Regions from separate parts of the Homo sapiens genome. Here regions 1 and 3 are each linked to region 2. The links are contacts of gene promoters, found by promoter capture Hi-C in blood cells and fetal thymus (Javierre and others, 2016). All regions are on one chromosome and are shown on one strand. Each heading gives the region's core, a stretch centred on a gene start or on the middle of the fragment in contact. The rest is flanking DNA. Distances are from core to core; before and after follow the strand shown.

The links. Contacts are between HindIII fragments. The CHiCAGO score rates a contact against its expected background, and 5 or more counts as called.
Region 1: a contact is called between the fragment with the promoter of OTUD4 here and the fragment with the promoter of SCLT1 in region 2, in 2 of 17 cell types (non-activated CD4 T cells and total B cells). The highest score is 6.0, in non-activated CD4 T cells.
Region 3: a contact is called between a fragment that was not itself captured here and the fragment with the promoter of SCLT1 in region 2, in 1 of 17 cell types (activated CD4 T cells). The highest score is 7.2, in activated CD4 T cells.

The regions. Positions count from the first base shown.
Region 1 is chr4:145,179,090-145,182,501 of GRCh38, forward strand. OTUD4 (OTU deubiquitinase 4) reads right to left here and starts at 1,500. Exons shown (of 21, transcript NM_001366057.1): 1 at 726-1,500. The coding sequence starts at 884. LOC124900794 (a long non-coding RNA gene) reads left to right here and starts at 3,104. Exons shown (of 2, transcript XR_007058294.1): 1 at 3,104-3,412. RefSeq lists enhancers at 602-1,431, 1,432-2,261 and silencers at 607-1,066, 1,187-1,416, 1,507-1,906. The HindIII fragment of the contact is 3,984 bases long and covers 1-3,221 here.
Region 2 is chr4:129,091,662-129,094,950 of GRCh38, forward strand. It overlaps SCLT1 (sodium channel and clathrin linker 1), which reads right to left and starts at 1,878. Exons shown (of 21, transcript NM_144643.4): 1 at 1,409-1,878. The coding sequence starts at 1,442. It also overlaps a transcript of C4orf33 not described here. RefSeq lists an enhancer at 1,573-2,142. The HindIII fragment of the contact is 3,346 bases long and covers 1-2,507 here.
Region 3 is chr4:148,440,435-148,443,897 of GRCh38, forward strand. NR3C2 (nuclear receptor subfamily 3 group C member 2) reads right to left here and starts at 1,980. Exons shown (of 9, transcript NM_000901.5): 1 at 1,726-1,980. RefSeq lists a silencer at 1,888-2,177. The HindIII fragment of the contact is 1,777 bases long and covers 1,170-2,946 here.

The sequences.
Region 1 (3,412 bases), core at 250-2,749, about 16 Mb after region 2:
CTTCCTGAGCAACTGTGTTAGAAAATGGTTTTGAAAAGCTCCAGTTACACGTACCCTTTCTACTACCAACATCAAAACAGGCTTTTTTAAAAAAGTCAGTTCTGTTTAGTATACCTACACAGCCCAGCAGAGCATAATAAAGGGTGGAACCTACTCAAGACAAATCCTTCAAAATATTCTATATTTGTAAAAGGCTGGTTTTCTCAAACGGCAGTTTGCCCATTTGATTCAAGTGACATGGGCGAGCTTGCCTACCCTACATTCCAAAGTCCAGCAGCAAACCAAAATATGTTCCACAAGTAAAGTTTGATCCACCACTTCTAGTAAACACTTGGTTTACTGGAGTGGGGTGAGCGTGGTGCTTCTCAAACGAAGGGAAGGAAGGTGAATGCGGAACAAAAGTAAAAAATATCATGTCGCCAGGTCCCCAGCAATAAATCAACTGTACAAGCTCCGAGCAGGCCTCACAAGTTGTCCTCAACTCATTACCTCTTCATCAGGAGAGAGACACCCCGTTAATTTGCGGGCTTTCGAGTTTCAATTTGCACCTTTCAGACGCAAAGCAGCGTCCCACTCCGGCGTTACAATGGGGCGCTGTGACGACAGCCAGGGCACGCGCAGCCCCGGCCGTGGGCGGCCCGGACAGCCCGCAGCTGCCTCCCCACCCAGACCCGCCGGGCCGTCCCCGCCTCCCCTCGAAGCCCTCCCCGCCCCCCCGCAATTACCTGCTCCGCCACGGCCCGGAACAGGCACGACCCGTCCTTGGCGACCAGTTTCCGATACAAGCCCAGTTTCCGCAGATAGGCGTCCATGGGCGTCGCGTCCTCGCGGGGCCCCGCGCCGCCCTGGTCCCCGCCGTCGGGGACGCCGACGGCAGCCTCCATGTTGCTGGTCCTGCTGCAGGCCAGGCGCGGCGAGGGCTAGCCCCACATGGCCAGGCCGCCGGCTGCTCGACGCCCCGGCCTGGGGCAGGCGGCGGCTCGGGCTGGGGCTCGGGCTCCGCGAGCGGCGGCAGGCGGCGGCGGCCCGAGGCAGCGGTCCGCGCTCTCCGGGCGCATAGGGAAGCCCTGCCTAATGCATGGCTGTCCGCACGCGGCCGCCTCCTCGGAGCGAACACGCGCCCACGACAAACGGGGGGAGCGGGATTAAGGAAAACCCCGAGAGTGAGTAGTCACTTCCCGACGGCCTCGCTGCCTGACTCAGGACCCAGGCCGGGGGTCGCCGCCCCCACAAGTTTCCTCCTCCGTACCGGTGTGAAGCGAGAAAACCCCCGCCCCTGGCGCGCACGCTGGGCCGGCTCAGGTGAAGCGGGGCCTGCGCCCCCGCGCACTCCCCACGCCGGGAGCCGAGGAAACCAAAAAGAAAGACGCGGCCTTTCGTTTCCCCACCTCGCTGGAGGGCGCCGGAGGGGCAGGGAGCGGGTGGGGGCGCCCGGGAGAGAACAGCACCTCGCAGCCCAGAATTTGTTTTCGCTTTCGGCCCGACAGCGGAGAGGACGGCGGGAGATGTAGTCTTGGCAGCCGCAGGAAGTCGGCTTGCGGCGGGCGGGGACGCGCTGGCCGGCCTACCCGGGGGAGGTGCCCGGGAGGCGCGCGGACTACAAGTCCCTACAGCGCGGGCGCGCCGCCGCCACCGCCACCGCCCCAAGCCGGCTTCGCGCTGCACTGGCGCCGCGTCCGCGAGCAGGCCGAGGGGCTCCGCCGGCCGATGTGGGGCGACCTGCGCGCGCCACCCGCCAACCCTGCCGCTGCGCCGCGGGAATCGCGCGCGCCGGGCTGGCGTGGAGTTGCCAGGGACACGGCGGCGCAGTGTCGGCCCTTTGTGTATTTCTTTCCAGAGGGCGCACCTGTCTGCTCCCTTCCCCCCGGCCTGCTCTCCTGGTGTTTCCATGGAGGTGGCTTTAACGGCTTAAGCAGAAAATAGAGCTAATTGGCTGAGGCTCCGGGAACTGGCACGGTGCGGGACGACACACTCTGTCCATAAATCAACCGTGGACTGCTGATTGCTATTAGTAGTACAGCTCACGTACTACGGCAAGATGAAGGCTTTGCCAAAGACATTTTTGTTCACCCTGTCACTGTAGCTGAGCACCCCATCACAGAGACATGTCACTGTCGGAAGACGTTAGGGTTTTTTTTTCCCCCTTAAAAAATTCATCTTGTAAATTGCTTGATAACATGCTGACTGGACTGGCCATGGCTTCCACCAGTGCTCGAGGCTTCAGCTCAACTTCCCACCCTCCGACGTTGAATGGCAGGGAATTGACAAAGTTAAATTATGCTTTAGAACCCAGAATTTATCCAGCATGCTTCTGTTGCACCAAAATTTTATTTTGCTAAGATACAACATCTGGTGTCCTTATTTAAATACATGGTTAATCATAGGAACTAATTCAGTCTTTTAGGCTATGGTGGAGGAGAGGGAGAAGAAAAGGGAGCATTACTATAGGTTTAGACATGTAGTCAAATACCTTGGAATGGGGGGCAAGGCAGGCCAGGTGGTGAGAGTCCAACGACAAAAATTTTTTAAAAACTACGTTAGACACTTTTCAGTATTTTCAGTGCAAGCAATCAGTCATGTATTCACTTTCCTTGGAGCGTCTTTGATTTCTTAATGTTTAAATATTGTATCTCAAATTATGCTGCTTTTAGAGAATACAAACGTTATCGTTACCTAAATGAAAAAATGTCCCTGCCTCAAATTTACTTGTTGTAGCGAAGAAACACTTTGAAATCAGGTTTAGAAAAGTATAGTTTCAGCTGGGCGTGGTGGCTCACGCCTGTAATCCCAGCACTTTGGGAGGCCGAGGCAGCCCGGTCACCTGAGGTCAGGAGTTCGAGACCAGCCTGACCAACATGGAGAAACCCCGTCTCTACTAAAAATACAAAATTAGTCGGGCGTGGTGGCACATGCTACTCGGGAGGCTACTCCCAGCTACTCGGGAGGCTGAGGCAGGAGAATAGCTTGAACCCAGGAGGCAGAGGTTGCGGTGAGCCGAGATCCCAACATTGCATTCCAGCCTGGGCAACAAGAGCGAAACTCCGTCTCAAAAAAAAAAAAAAAAAAACGGAAAAGAAAAATATAGCTTCAAGTCAAACCTGTTGCTTTTCTTTTTAAAATACACTTACATTGCATATACTTCTCATTCTTCTCAAAAAAAAAAAAATTCCTGAGTATTGCCACTACTTAAAACATGGATCGCCCTTGTTTTTGAGTTTAAAAGCTTGCCTTTTAAACTCAAAGAGAAACTCAAAGTAATATCTAAACTCCTGCTGAATGAATGTAGAACAACCTCACTCTAAGCTGGCTGCTTCTGGTTCCAAAATTAGAAGTGATGCACCTGTTATATCTGACCCTGGGCCTGTTTAAGGAAATCCTTTAGGTATTTTGAGACTTAATCCAAGACAGACCC
Region 2 (3,289 bases), core at 628-3,127:
TTAGATAACATATACCATGCACTTAATATGTGCCAGACACTATGCTCAATGCTTTTTCATCATCTCATTTAAGTCTCACAACTTCAAGAGGATTCTTGTGTTCTTATACTCATTATATAAATGAGAAAACTGAGGTGCAGAAAAGCTAGGAAACTTGCTCGAGGTCACAGACCTGGAAAGAGGTAGGCTGTGAGCCCAGACAGACTAAATCCAGAGGCTGACTGAGTTCTTAACCACTGGTCTATAATGCTACCAAAACGGAACTTACTACCTTTTTCCTAACTTCCCCGTTGCTCAAGCAAAAACTAAGTTGCTCTCTACCTCTTTCTCTCAAATCCCCTGATCTCCAGTCTCCCTGTGCCCAACTTAGTTTACTTCTTACCTGAATGATGACAGTAGACAACTAACTGCACTCTGCTATAATGCATATTCCCCGTAAAAATCAGACCGGGCCTTCTAAACTACAATTTGATCATGCCACTCTCAACTGAATTCCTATAACCCATGCAATGGTCCATACTCCTTAGCACAGAGAAGACAGGGCCCTTCACCATCCAGCCCCTTTCTACGCCTTCAACTGCACTTGCCATTTCCCTATATAAATATTCCAATTCAATTTACATCAATATTACACTCAAACCAGCCGTATTGCAAGTCTTTAACAAAGCATATTCCTAATCCCCTCAGTGTCACAAATATTGTTCTATTTGGGATGCCTAGAGTTTTTCATATAGTAAATTCATATTTGTACTGCACGTTTCAGCCCAATAGCACCTTCCTTGAACATATTTTAATAATAATCGTGTAATAGTTAATATTTGTTTAACACAATGTATCAGATACTATTCTAAATCCTTTACATATTTTAATATTCATTTAATCTTTCCAACAACCCTATGAGACTGTGGCAAAAGAGCCAGCAGTTGCTGTCACTTCAATATATTTTGGAATACATTTCCCTCCCCAAATTAAATTCTTGGAGGTAAAAACTGTCCTGTTTATCTTTGCAGCAGCTGTTCTTCCATAGTGTCTGGTACATAATAGAAACAGGAGTTCAATAAACATCTTTTTAATAAATGGCCAGAGAGCTGTGCCCCTAGATTTTAAATGCACACTTGGAAACTCCTGCTGGCCATTAGCCTTCTAATCTTCAGAGCACGAGAGGAGCATAACAAACATGTTTAGCGTCTAGTAGAATTCTGTGTAAGCTACAAGTACTACCACACGGTTCTGCTTAAATATACACACATCCTCACGTATAACATCAAGGTTTTTTTTTTCCTGCAACTAACTTCTTTAACTCTTTACCAATTTAAATGTACCCAACCAGCATTCAAAAAAGATTTGTCGGTCAACGACGACGATATTAAACATTGTATATGAAGTCTCAAAAAAACATGGAGCTTACTTTGCTCTCTCAGAAAGTCGATTTCTGCAGCCATTTCGATACAATTTTAGTTTAGAGCTTTCACCACCTTTACCTTCCTCTGAAAGACAGAGAGCTTGCTGTGCGGGAAAACAAAACTAAGCCAACGCTCGGTTGGTTGTCAAGCGCTCCAGCGGTGCAATCTGCATCCTACTCACGCGGCATCTACAGCCCCGCCACGCTTCTTTCCCCCGCGCCCCAGACGAGTCCCTGGCCCTGGTGAGAGACTGAAGATTGCTGGGGACTCCACGTTCAACCGAATCCCACGCTGGTGGGAAGAGGACGCGGTCGATACAGGCGTCCCGCGGGTCACTCTGGGTCTCGTCGGGCCACCTAGGAGAGTGCCGCGGGAGCTTGACGGCAGCCTGAGAGCGGCGTTCTACGCGGAGCGGCGGGGGTTGGAGAGGACAACGCCAAGACGGCTGGGAAGCCCCAGGCCAGCAGCGGAAGTCCACTCGGCCCGCCCTGCGACTTTGAAACCGGTGCCCCGGACCACTCCTTGGAGACGGTGGCGCCTCTTGCGTCATCACGCGGGCGTTGGAGCTTACGCCATCGCGCGTCCTAGAGTCCTAGCACGCTATTGGCTGGCTGTCAAGCAATGGGAGGAGTCGTGAGAACCTGGATGACAGCGGGCTGAGCCACCGGCTTGGCGCGGCGGCCAAACTGGTGGGACAGTGTCTCCAGGTAGTGAGGCCCAACCTCTTTAAAACAAACAAACAAACAAACAAAAAACCAAAATGCAAACGTGAGTAGAGAATGAAATACACAGTTTAAATGCCCTCACTATCTTTGGGTTACTAATATACTAAGCCTTTCTGGACTAAGTAAAAGATGCAGGTTCCTGCGGCTAGGGATAGAAGCCAGACTGGCGTCTTCAGAATCTCCCACCAAGGCTGTACCTCTGGAGGAGTTCTAGGTTTGGATTTGGTCATCTCAAGAAGGTAAGTACCTTCTCGGTCTTTGTGGGTCTTTAGACAAAGGAGACAACTGTTGTTTAAATATTTAACTGTGTAGTAATAAAGCGTGTAGTTAGAAGTACTCAAAAGATCTTGCAAATTCAGCAGCTACTTCTTCAAAGATAAGCTTGTTTCCTCAAATATAAGGAAAGATAAAAGGTACTTTTTTTTGCAAAAAACAAAACGGTAAAACTTACATTTGTGGATAGATTACAATTTTCATTTTTGAAAATTAATTTTGTCTGGACTTAAAACGTATTTTTTTAAAAAAAATCATTTAACATTAGAGGAAATCTCACCACTAGCAACAAAAATGTTAACTTGAAGCTAGCCACTAGTTTTGTGCTTTTAATAAATTGTATTTTTATGGACTGAAGTAAAGTTTCACTAAACAGGCATGTCATAGATGCAGCTTGATTTGGCTTTCTGTTTAACGGCTTAAGAGTTTTGTTGTCCCGTACTCATAATGTCATATAAACAAAGTAACCTTAGCGATATGTGTTAAGAAATTTTAAAAATGTATTCAAATATATGCAGTTAGGCATCTGAAGGCCTTACTCAATACTCACTGTTAATAGAATGAGATGGTCCCTTCCTCTAAAGACTAGCTGTTAAATATGGATGTGTAGCTTAATAATCATTGAAAAGGTCTAATCCAGCTTTGAGTTGGTGATAATTGAACTTGTTCTGATTTTTAGTAGCTATAACGTTTACACAAAAACTTTTTGTATAAACGTTATAGCTAAGGGAAAATTGAGTGTGCAAGGTCCAACTCGTTTTTGAAGTTCAGTATATGACTCTTTCTTCATAAACATCTCACTGACTCTCCAAGGACTTGCTTGTAACTTCTCCCACATTTGAACCTTGTATATTGTCGTATTTCTACTTGGCATCAAATAAATAATTA
Region 3 (3,463 bases), core at 808-3,307, about 19 Mb after region 2:
TTAATATCTAGAGGATAAAGAAAAAGTTTATGTTACTAAAGTATAAAATGAAGCAGATAGAGGTATACAAATCTAACTAACAAAAATCAGGCTTGCCTGCCTCACAATGGAAACCATACCAAAGATTCTCTTAGGACAAATGCAAAAAACATTATGAACTTTTAATTTTCATGCAAATGGGCCTCGCCCCAAAACACAAAAAAAAATTCACTAAAGGAAAAGCACTGGTGGAGGTGCTACTTTAAGCCATACATATGCTCTCAAACACAAAAGAAATGCTGTTTTCACAAAGGAAAACCTTAAAGTTTTACGTTTTACAGTCTGTGTTAAATTGCCCTTTTCCATAAAGAAGTACTTTTTTCGGGAATATTAACAAAGATCCTTGCGAATTTGTATTTTATCTGGAAACACTTTCACTTTTAGTAACCCCCAAAACCCAATCTCATCATGATGGAAATGATAGAAAAGGCATCTTTTTTATATTTATTTGACTATAAGATGGCACTTTAAAGACTAAAGCTTAAGAATCTCACAATCATCTATAGACTGCATAGTTGTAAAAGTTCACTATATGTAACTATTTTTTGTCATTCCCCACTACATAACTATTATGTTCCTCTCTTTTATAGATGAGGTAAATGATAGAAATCTGCCCAAGGTCACCTGAGAGAGCGGGAGAACCAGTTAGAACTGAGCACACCTGATTTCTATTCACTCACCTAATTTACCGAGCCACCTGATCTTTCCAAAAATCGCCAAACAAAACTATGCCTCCCTTAAAGGAAAAAGCTCCACTTTAAATTATTTTTTAAAACTTCTCCTCTCAAGCTTTTCCATGATAGCTGCCACGATGTCAAACATAAAATTTAAACTTCACAGCAGGACTTCACAGATGGAGAATGCTGTTATCATTACTATGTAAATATCATCAATAACAGCACCTAGAGAAATGGCAATACAAAATGTTAGGAAGCAATTTGGTGCCTTTAAAATTCGGCGGTTTCAAAAGCTCGTCTGCTATCAAAAGTTTTCCTAACTCCTATGTCATAATAAATAATTAAAACTGATGGTGCCATAAACCATTATTATTTAAACCTGGTCTTTTTAAATTGAGTAGGCAAAGCCACGCACCTAAAATTCAGTAGCAGAGTAAGGATGCCACCAAAAGAAGCTTCGTCCCCTTCTCCCTTGCCCTTAAAATTCCAACTGATGCCATAGGAAGCGTAGCCTGTCTCAAGAGTTTCGCGAATGCTAGCGAACGGGAAATGCACGAATTTCCAGAGCCCCTTTTATACAGGATCTATTAGGATCTATATCTCCTTCAACTGCCCTTATGCGCTACACCTCCGGCTGAGATTTGGGAGCGTCCGCAATTGATAAAGGAAAGAAATATTATTCAAACGTCCTTTAAAAATTGTACAGGGAAAATGATCCGAAATTCATCTTTGGGTAAAGGGAAGGGTGGTAGACCTCCCACTGCCAAAGGCAGTTAAAAGCTGCTAGTTAGAGGGCATTTATCCAAAGTGGCCAAACTTTCCCAAAATAGTCCTCTGGCGGCCAAAGGGGGAGAAAAGTGGAAAACCAAAACAAAACAACAAGCACACAGCACCATACTGACTGTGCCTCCGGATTACGCAGCCACTTCTCCCTGCAAAGTGCACGCTCCCGCGCCGCGGCCGCACGCCGAGCACGGCAAGCGGTGCCCCGCCGCGCGCCCCTACACACCTGCCTCGGCCGGGGTCCGTCTCTCGCCGTCTACCTGTTGCAGCGCTTGCCACCGCCACGAAACCCCTGCTGCGGAGCCCCCCTAAATCCAACCACATCCAGGCCAGCGAGTGCCGCTCTCCCTGCAGCGGGAGAGCCCGAGGCAGCAACGCTCTTGCACCCAGGTGACTGACTGCACGGGCTTCCTCTGAGCAGCCTGAAGTTGGCTCCCGTCTCCCGGGCCCAATGACACCCCGGGCGCGGAGGGGCTGAGAGGAGGGGGCAGGGGCAGGGGCAGGGCCAGGGCGGGCAAAAAAGGGAGGGAGAGAGGGCGGGCGAAAGCCCGGAGGGGGAGTGGGCCAGCTGGAGGGCTGGCCCTTTTAAAAGCGGGTCACATGTCCAGATAAAGTTCAGGTTGCTATCCCGCCCCCCTGAACCCTTCCTATTGGCCCGAAGAGAAGCAAGGCTCCACGCCGCACGGGTCAGGCGGGCTTCTTATTGGACAATCCAGGCTGTCAGTCACCAGGCGGGCGACATGACTGATACAAAGTTGCTGCGACACAGCCTGGACTCGGCAGCTTCCTTAAAGCCGCAGCCGCGGCGGGAGCTTGGGGTGCCGGGCGGTGGCTACATCAGGCGGCCTCCGCACGCTGCCCCCACCCCCATCGCTCGGCCGCCCCAAACTTGCTTACGTCCACCCTGCTCTCCTTCTGACCGACCCCAGGATATCTGGAGAGATGTGAAAAGTGTGCTGACGCGGAAGAAGTCGGTTTTTCCGCGAGCAAAGTGTCGTCCCCTCACGCTCTCCACCTGCAGCTCCAGGTGAGCTGCAGCCCAGACCCTGGCGCCGCCCAACAGCGTCCGCGCGCGGGGAGGACTCTGGGTGGGCTTCACCCGACCCTCGAGGTTCCTCTCCCAGCCCCTTTCCACTGTCTCCAGAGTTACCTCTCAGCAGAGCAGCAGCAGCCTTCGCTGCCAGCGAGCAAGACGATCACGTTCACTCGATTTGAATTTAGTTGTTTTAACCGTGCTGGAAAAACCCTTTAAACACAGCTTTCCTCCCATCCCTTAGACCCCTAACACCAAAAAAAAAAAAAAAAAAAAAAAAAAAAAAAAGAGAGAGAGAGAAAGATAAATGAAAGAAGTGGCAGGGTCAAGAGCTGCTCCTCTACTTCCTTATAATTTTGTCACTGTACTTACTACTTTAGTATTGGATTTTTCCACTAGTTCAATTTGAAAGCAAGCTTACCATCGAGGATATTCACGTTATAATGGGTGGAGGGGGTGGGTCACATAAGTGGGAGAAACAGACAGGAGGGGGGAAGGAACCAAACTGTTTTCTAAGGATCGGTTGTCTGCATGAAGAAATTTCGGTTTCCCTCCAACCGCCCCCTCCTCGATTCTCCTCCCGCCCACCCAAATGCTGCAGTTACTAAGCAAAAGGATGGGGTTCCTAACTTTGATTTCTAAGGACTTTTAGGCTTCTCATGTAAGGCCCCGTTTTAGGCTCCCCGCTGGCCCGGAGTCAGCATCAGTGACGTATACACCTAAATCTGGTCCCCCGGCCCTCGGCGACCCGCAGCCCGGCGGCGGCAGCTGTGCGGCCTCCCGCCTCACCCTCGCTTCGCGCCCGCCAAAGCCCGAGGCGGGGGACCGGGGGACACCCTGTGCCCAAAGGCCCCTCCTCTCCTTAACAGTTAGTTAAGCTCCGGGATTCCGGACCCCTAACCCAGGGCTGAGACTTGAACTCTCAGCCGCT